Linked DNA regions of Homo sapiens: region 2 is linked to region 1. Evidence: promoter capture Hi-C in 16 types of primary human blood cells and fetal thymus (Javierre and others, 2016). All regions are on one chromosome and are shown on one strand. The core of a region is centred on a gene start or on the middle of the fragment in contact, and the rest is flanking DNA. Distances in the headings are between cores, read along the strand shown.

What was found. The method cuts DNA at HindIII sites, captures the fragments that hold promoters and counts their contacts. A CHiCAGO score of 5 or more calls a contact.
Region 2: a fragment that was not itself captured here is called in contact with the fragment with the promoter of KIAA0825 in region 1 in 5 of 17 cell types (total B cells, total CD4 T cells, naive B cells and 2 more); the score reaches 14.1 in total B cells.

The regions. Positions count from the first base shown.
Region 1 is chr5:94,616,523-94,620,915 of GRCh38, reverse strand. It overlaps KIAA0825, which reads left to right and starts at 2,312. Exons shown (of 21, transcript NM_001145678.3): 1 at 2,312-2,416. It overlaps SLF1 (SMC5/6 complex localization factor 1), which reads right to left and starts at 2,247. Exons shown (of 21, transcript NM_032290.4): 1 at 2,151-2,247. RefSeq lists enhancers at 1,526-1,635, 2,026-2,205, 2,516-2,695, 2,434-3,298. The HindIII fragment of the contact is 3,766 bases long and covers 1-2,975 here.
Region 2 is chr5:64,761,896-64,766,288 of GRCh38, reverse strand. The region is part of intron 1 of SREK1IP1 (SREK1 interacting protein 1); the gene reads left to right. It overlaps LOC124900985 (a long non-coding RNA gene), which reads left to right. Exons shown (of 4, transcript XR_007058787.1): 2 at 1,168-1,314. Among named protein-coding and RNA genes, the nearest start is that of SREK1IP1, 4.6 kb to the left of the region's middle. RefSeq lists a silencer at 1-49. The HindIII fragment of the contact is 236 bases long and covers 1,672-1,907 here.

The DNA.
Region 1 (4,393 bases), core at 1,063-3,562:
AAAGTCTTTCTTCCTCCTCAAAAATAACCAGACAGTGTATTTTAAATTTCAAAGTAATTTTGATAGAAAGTATGAATTAAGTGAACTTAAAAGTTCCAGGGTTATTTTACTTTTAAGCAGTAACATGCCCTTATAAGGTGAAAAACAGTACATAGTACATTATACAGATATATTTTCTATTAGTATATTCAAAGAGTCAACTACAAGAGTAACAGATGATGTCTCATTTTAGTTACATTCTTGAGAGAATTCGTTTTGTTTAGGGTTTATTATTCAAAGCCAACACAGAATTTTTTATTTTACTTTCTAAAAAAGTTTTATTTAAATGGTGAAAACCCTACTTTAGGGTAATATAATCAAGATACATATAATAAGGAAAGTACTAATAAATAAAAGCTATACTATTGGTTTCCCAAAACGCAATGTTTTTGAACATCAGTGGAAAATGTGGATGCTTATTACGAAATCTTCAGTTCTGAATTTTGATTATGAAAAGTAACCACATTTGATCATCTTTTCAATGACTTTCACGTGATCCACGCTTTATGCTTTAGGGAAGCAAGAAAATGTTAGGTTATATAATTCAATTTTACTTAATAACGCATAATAAAATCTGGATTTAGAAAACAGAATAGGGGTTTATTTGCAGTACTGAAGGTTCGCTGTCTTTACAATAAAATTGACTTAAACATTCAAGTATTTGAACATCCTAGTTCCTTTAAATTAAGAATACTCAAGAGTTACCCGGTGGCTCACGCCTGTAATCCCAGCACTTTGGGAGGCCGAGGCGAGCGGAACACTTGAGATCAGGAGTTCGAGACCAGCCTGGACAGCATGGTGAAACCCTGTCTCTATTAAAAATACAAAACATTAGTCGGGCGTGGTGTCGCGCACCTGTAATCCCAGCTACTCGGGAGGCTGAGATAGGAGAATTGCTTGAACCTGGGAGCCGGAGGTTGCAGTGAGCCGATAGGCACTGCACTCCAGCCTGGGCAACAGAGCAAGGCTCTGTCAAAGAAAGAAAGAAAGCAAAGGAAGGAAGGAAAGGTAAGAAAAGAAAATAAAGAAATATACTCTTTAATATAAATTCACCTCATACTAGCAACTTAGGTATTGAACACCTGCAATATACGTAATCAAACTTTCCAATAATGAGAACATCTTGCACATCCACAGGTATTTCCAAGAATTGAGGCACAACGGAATAACATAAACCAAAAAGTCCACAAGGTGCATTGTCTGTCACACATACATTGTAAATTCAGTTCAAATGTTCATTCCCAATATTTCAACAACAACAACAAAATTTTTTAATAAAGTCATTCGTCAAAAAAGAGGCTGGCGCCTCCAAAATCAAGCTCCATCTAACTCCTGAGTCAAATAATGATATGAAGTACCCGAGACGGACCAATTTTTTTTTTGTCAATATTTAATCTGAGGCTTTGGAAGTGGAAGAAATCTTAAAATAGCCACTCAGTCTTGTTTCCAGCCTTCAGGCAGCTGAAATATAAACCCCAGGAACACAGACCCTCCCTTCAGCGAAAAGTGTATGTGTGTATGTTTGTGTTTAAAGGCCTATAGCAGTCAGAGATAGGATCACTGCCGTTTTAGCAGTTTAAAAAAAAAAAATTCTACTAGAGAGGAAAGAATGACACAATTTTCTTCGTCACAGGAAAGTGGGCCTGGGGTATCCCAGCCACCTTCGCAGACGCTAAGTTATGGAAAGCAGCCAAAATTCTGGTATCAGGATGAGGCGTCCCCATGGGTTCTATGGAAACGAGAGACGCGGGGGGCCTAGCGCCTTCCAGGCGGCGGGCCGAGCGGCAGAGCTGCGCAAGCAGAAGCGGGGGAAGTGGCTCAGCCCAGTACTGCAGAGGGGCGCTCGGTGGCAGTCCCCGCAGCGGCACGGGCGAAGCGTCGCGGGGTCTGCAGCTGCAGCCCACCAACTCCGGCGCCGAGCGCGAAGTCGGGAGAGCTGGAACGAACTGCAGCTGGAGAAAGCGCGAGAGCCAGACACCGCTGCCGCTCACCCCAGCCGCTTCCTTCCTAGCCTCACAGCCGGGAGGCAGAAACTTCGGAGGTACCGCCCGGCGAAGAAACATCCCCACAGAGACAGAATACACTGTGTCTTCCTAGCTGAGCCCCTTTACCTTCCCGGTGTCTGGGATGCTTCCTTCGGTGGCAGCGGCGGCAGGGGCGACGACTGCCGCTGCAGCACTCAACTGCTTCACGAATCCGGGCTCTGGGAAACAATTTCCCGCCGCGCGCTAGGCAGCCCCGGAAGCGATAGTACCATTTCCGGGTGGTTGTCAGTGACGCTCCGGAGCCGTCGCCAGGGTGGTAATACCTGGTGCAGAGCTTGAGTCTGGCCAGCGGGTCAGGCTCTTGCTAGATCAGCACCGGAGGTGGAAGACTGGTAAGTGATTTTACTGGGTTTTCTCCTGCGCCTGATATTAATGGCTGGCCGGGGCTCTGTGCAGCATTATGGCCAGCCCGAGAAGTGAGTGGGCGAGGGTGGAACCAGAAGGAGTCCCCATCAAACCCCGTGGCGCTTGACACCCAGTGCAGCTGGAGAAGGCCCTGGGATCCCGGCTTACCGTCTTATCCACTCGCAAAATCTGTCTCCGACTTGGAACTCGACCTCGGGTCACCAAGTGTCCCTGGGCGAGGCCGAAGACACCGTGTACCGTGACTCGGCGTTGTGCCGAGTTTCTCTACCAATGATCAACGAGTTTCCTATCTCCCATTGGCAGCGTTTGGCCACTCTTGATTCCTGAGTACTGTTTCCGTAGTTCTGGGGTGCCGTGCCTGGAAGGCAGGAGGTTGGCTGAAGAAGACATCTTTTACAAACATTTAGGAAGTGAGATGGGGAGGTTCCTTCCTGATTTAGAATTAATTGAAGGTTCCTCCCGCCATTTGAATTGGATGAGAAGAACGGTCTTTGTTTTCATGGCTGAGACATAAGAGAACAAGCTTGTAATTTCATGCTTGGGCATTAGATGCATTTTTGGAAAGCAGTGATCAGTAAGTATGTGTGCTTTCAGAAAGGAATGCTTGCGTTCTGCTCCAGGCTTTGTCGATAATGAAGGATTCAGGAGAATTTTGGATGGAGGTCTGAGGTAGCCAGAATAGTTGTAAAGAGAAATTGCTTCCGACAAAGGGATAATGTGAGGAAAGGTGCTCATTTAAGATTTGAAAGATGTGATGTAGTGAACCTTGGCGACTTCTCTTAAGTAATGCAATTTCTTAGGTAACTAGTTTTCACTTGCCACCTTATATTTAGATAATTACCTCCCCACCAACCCCCGTAAAAGGCAGCTGACTGTTATTTTTTCAAAACAGTCAGTTCCCGAAAGAGTTGTAGGTACTATTGCATTTTTTTTATGGGTATGCTCCTCATACCCATAAAAACATTTTCTTTATCGGAGCATACCGATAAAGAAAAATGCAATATGTTCAATTCAAGGCCCCTGTTAACACCAGGCCAGTGTCTTCTTAACCTTTTGAGAGTAATGCAACAAACCATATTTAGGACAGCACATTGATTTTCTGGCCTTGTTGGTTAATAATTCAACAAACTTATAATCGCCCCATTAATCCCAATCTTGACATTTTGTTGAATCTTGTATTTTTTCTTTATTTCTCCAGTTGAAAGTATTATAAATTACTTCAGGGATATTATGTATTATATCTGTACAGCAACTAGTTTTTAGAGGCAGTGATTTCTCTCTTTGAATTGCTCTTGAATGTAGCCAATCATTAATACTTACCCCAAGTAGATACTGTCTGCCAGGCACTTTACATTTATTATTTTATTTAATGTTTAATAAAAAAAGAAAATCACAAAAATTGTATTATTTCTATTTTGCAAAACATTTTATACTGAGACCCAAAGAGGTTGTGATTTTCCATAAATTATACAATTAAATGGCACAATTAAAATTTGAATCCAGTCTACCTGACTCTAAATTTTGGCTCTTTTTACTGTGCTCTATACCTTTATAAGTAAACATAACAGTATCATTATTTTCACTCCAGGTAAAAATGGATAGATAGTATGTCACATTTAGAAATCAAGTGGATAGCAAAACTTGAGGATAAAAGGGACTTAAGGGATGTGTTCATCACCATAAGGTAATTTTGACATCTAAATAATGCAGTTTCTTTAGTGCCTTTATCCTTGGCCAGTTTTATTATCCTAATTCAAACAAATGCCTATACTGTACATTAGCATAACACTTGGGGCAAATGCAGAAGATCTGGAGACCATCAGCAAGCATATTGGTGACTGAGTCCAGAGTATCAGCTAACTATCTCTTTAGACAGCTTTTCACACACACATTTGTATACATGTATATTTGTGTGTGCATGTGTGTGTGTGTGTGTAGGGAGA
Region 2 (4,393 bases), core at 540-3,039, about 30 Mb after region 1:
GGTTAAGGGGATGATGATGACATCCAGTCTGGGGCTTGTTGTGTTGAGGTTAGTCAGACATAGGAATGCAAATAGTTAATAGTAAGAGATATAATTTGTAGCTTAGGAAAGAAGTCAGAGTCAAAGACAATGATTTGGGTGTTACCCACACACATAATAGGAGGTAAGGCTATGGGAGTGGAGCACTCTGCTTAGATGGTGTGTAGAATGTGAAGGGAAGGTCTGTGGCTGAAGCCTGGTCAACATCTAAGAGGCCAGCAGCGAAAGATAAACCTACACAGTAGATTGCCTAGGCATCCTGATAGGCCGAGTCAGCTCTAGTGATCTTTATACCACACAGCTGCACCCAAAGTTGACCTGTTATCACTGCTCATTTCATTACTTGAGCAAGCCTTTTGGGCACCTGTGTGATATGGGCACACTGGAGGACACAGTGTCATAGTCTGTGCCCTCATAAAACTTTAAGCAGTACATGAAAATGTGCTACTTAAGAAAGGGGACAAAAGTGATTTTTTAAGGCCTCATTAAAATTCTCTTAAACTTAGACCAGTGTTATAGATATGTTAACCTTCTTTCAATTCAAAATAGTGCTTCAAAGTATAATAATGTTAAATTGTGCCATTAAGCTAGATGGCAAGCTATAAACTGTTTAAACCCAGCAATAATTGAGATAATAGGTGTGACAGTGCTGTAAAAGTACAATGCAAGTGTCATTAGAAAATACAGATACAGAAAATCGTAAGATAATTTCTTAGATGATCGATCCAGACAGGGTATTAAAGGAAAATAGGGCTAATCTAAACTTTTCAAGGTTATCATCAAGGAGGACAAGTATTATGTTAGGCTCTTTAATTTTAGGTTTAATGGATTCAGTTTGGCATTTCTTGGGGTGGTCCTGCTAGTGATTATGACAAGGTATGATTATAAAGTAACAAGGCTGCTTTCTGCAAACCACACATAAAAATCAGCCTTGTCTGTTTTATGATCATGTGCTTCACCCGTGTTTCCATAGCATTGTGTATAAGCGTATACCATTATGTAGGTAATGCAATGAAATGTAGGCATTTAGGAAAATCTTACTCTTAGTTGTTATTATAGAAATAATATTTGATCACAGGTTTCAGTGAAATTTACTTTCTTTGAAAAAACTGCTTTTCCCATTCACAGTTGTTGAAATTACCTCCAACATTCATGTCAGTGATTCACCACTCTCCATGAAGAGCTGAACTGGCACAAGTGGCAACGTATGTTACTGATGTAATTGGCACAAAACTGTTTTCTTATTATCTCCTTCACTGAAGCCCTATAGCCAAGGTAGGGAATTTTTCTGTGGCCAAGCTAACATTTCAGTCTGGCACATCACAGTGAATAAGATTTTTAAAACACATTATGATAGTATCTTAGTAATAGAAGAATTCTCAATTACATCCAATTTTTCTTTATTCCTAAACTAGACTATAGGTAATTTGTTTTCTCTCTAGTCTATATTGCACATTGCTGCTAAAATAATTTTCCTGAATCATATATCTGATCCTATCATTGGTGGGAGGCATGAACTTAGTTCTTGACCCCTATCTGTGAATTTTGTAGTTCTCTTCAAGCCACTTAACCTTTTGGAGGTTCAGTTTTTGTGTCTCCATAATGGAGTTGAAGGCTAAGGTTTCTTAAGCTTCTAAAGTGTTAAAAATGCCAAGTCTCCCCATCTCTCTCTGCGAGAATGCAGTGCACACTCCCAAGCATGACCAAATCACTCTTTCTACTCTTTCCTTCCACCACTCCCCTCATGCATTCTACAATCCTGCAAAAATCTGACTTGGCCAATTATTCTGTGAACCTCTCAAGTGCTTTCCTACCTACGAGCCTTTGTTATTACCTCCTATATTGCCTGTAACTACCTATGGGAAGCTTTCCTGATCTCTTGGCTGAAACTCTTCCCTGCCACTTCTTCATGCTTATTAAATAGAGCTCTGTGTCTTTTATGGAACCTGGCACATTCTATCATGGATTACAGCTGTGGTTGCATTACCATAGATAAACTAGTATAGTGTCGCTTCCCATGGGCTGCATGCAGCTCAGGACGACTGAATGCAGCCCAACACAGACTCGTAAACTTTCTTAAAACATTATGAGTTTTTTTGTGATTTTTTTTTTAAAGCTCATCAGCTATTATTAGTGTTAGTGTATTTCAGTGTATTCTATAGTTTATGCCCTCATAAAACTTTAAGCAATACATGAAAATACTACTTAAGAAAGGGGACAAAAGTGATTTTTAAGCCCTTATTAAAATTCTCTTAAACTCACACCACTGTTATGTTAACCTTCTTTCAATTCAAAATAATGCTTCAAAGTATAATAATGTTAAATTGTGCCATTAAGTTGGATGGCAAGGTATAGATAAACTGTTTAAACCCAGCAAAAATTGAGATAATAGGTGTGACAGTGCTGTAAAAGTACAGTGCAAGTGTGGCCCAAAACAGTGTGGCCCAGCAAAGCCAGAAGATTGGATATCCCTGTAGGGGCTTGATTCATCCCTATGGCTTCTCTAACATCGAGTTCAAAGTTATACCCATCATAGGTAAATAATGAATAATTAGAGGGTTGATTACTATAACTGCTGCTGAGCAGAAATAGTACTAAACAGATTAAGCTAATACAGTCTTCATTCTGTTTCATTAGGTAATTAAATTTCTGTCTCTTCTTAAACAAATTTCTCTGTCTCTTCTATTTTTTTTTTCTTTTTTTGGGGGAGGGGGTGACGGAGTCTCGCTCTGTCGCCCAGGCTGGAGTGCAGTGGCACTGTCTCGGCTCACTGCAGCCTCCGCCTCCCGGGTTCAAGTGATTCTTCTGCCTCAGCCTCCCAAGTAACTGGGACTACAGGCACATGCCACTATACCCGGGTAATTTTTTGTATTTTTAGTAGAGGCAGGTTTCACCATGTTAGCCAGGATGGTCTAGATCTCCTGACCCTGTGACCCGCCTGCCTCAGCCTCCCAAAGTTCTGGGATTACAGGCATGAGCCACCGCGCCCAGCCTCTCTGTCTCTTCTTACACCTTTTTTCTTCACGGATTAATTGTACTTTGTGAGGCATGTAGACTAAAGAGTTTTATACATTTCATATCAGTATAAATCTCATATCAGTAAACAGCTCTTTGATTGGTTTGCTAGTTCTCCTTTTGGAGTCAAATGATTATGAAGCCTTTTTTTAATTTTTATTTGTTTATATATATATTTATTTGGAGACAGAGTCTCGCTCTGTCACCCAGGCTGGAGTGCAGTGATGCAATTTCAGCTCACTGCAACCTCCGCCTCCTGGGTTCAAGTGATTCTCATGCCTCAGCCTCCTGAGCAGCTGAGATTGCAGGCATCCACCACCACGCCTGGCTAATTTTTGGAATTTTAGTAGAGATGGAGTTTCACCATATTGCCCAGGTTGGTCTTGAACTCCTGGCCTCAAGTGATCCACCCACCTCAGCCTCCCAAAGTGCTGAGATTACAGGTGTGAGCCACCACACCTGGCCTATGAAGGCATTTTTAATGGACTATTAAGACATCTGCTATTTCAGAATACTTGCATTGAGAAACTCATTTAGCCTATTTTTTAAATTATCTTATTAATTAACGAAGTATTAATGTTTTAGTAAAAAATGACTAATTTCTACTGCTTTGTCTACTTTGACTTTAGTACAGTATTTGGGGTCCCAAAGAAAGGAGTGTGTCTATGAATTTTTAATATAAATGGTAGAAAAATAAAATACTTGGAATTTTACTTTGCATCAACTTAAGCAGAACATATATATTATATAAATAGATATTACCACTTATAAAATATGGCTGCAGTTTGAATTTTAAAAGCAGAAGTAATTGAAATTGTCTTTATAGGTTCCCCGATTGTAACTAAAACCATAATGGAGTAACCAAATATAAAACTTGTTACTAAACAAAATTAATCTAATTGACTCTAATCCAATTAAAAATGAAAAGAATGGGTCCTGTGACAGAAGTAATTGCAATTTCTAATTACTTAGTACTAAAAAACTTAGTTACTTAAGCTGTATATGTTTAAATTTAAGCGATTCTAGGAAATATTTTAATGTAATGAAAATGTCAGGCTTCCCTAAATTCCAAAATAGACAATAGGAAAAATATATTAAGTTCTAAGCATCACTGTTAAAATTCCCAGTGACTAAGTTGTTGCCTTTGGAAAGATAGGTGATGTAAAATTTCAAGGAAATAAATTTAAATCGAATATGACATTCCTTTGCGGACCACTGACCAACCTGAAGCAAGTGTTGAGGACTCGCCATCTTTCTCTCAATTTTTCTCAGTCCTTTTATTTTTGTCCCTTCTTTTTGGTTTTCTCAATATTTTCTGTTTCTTCGTTGTCTACTGTTA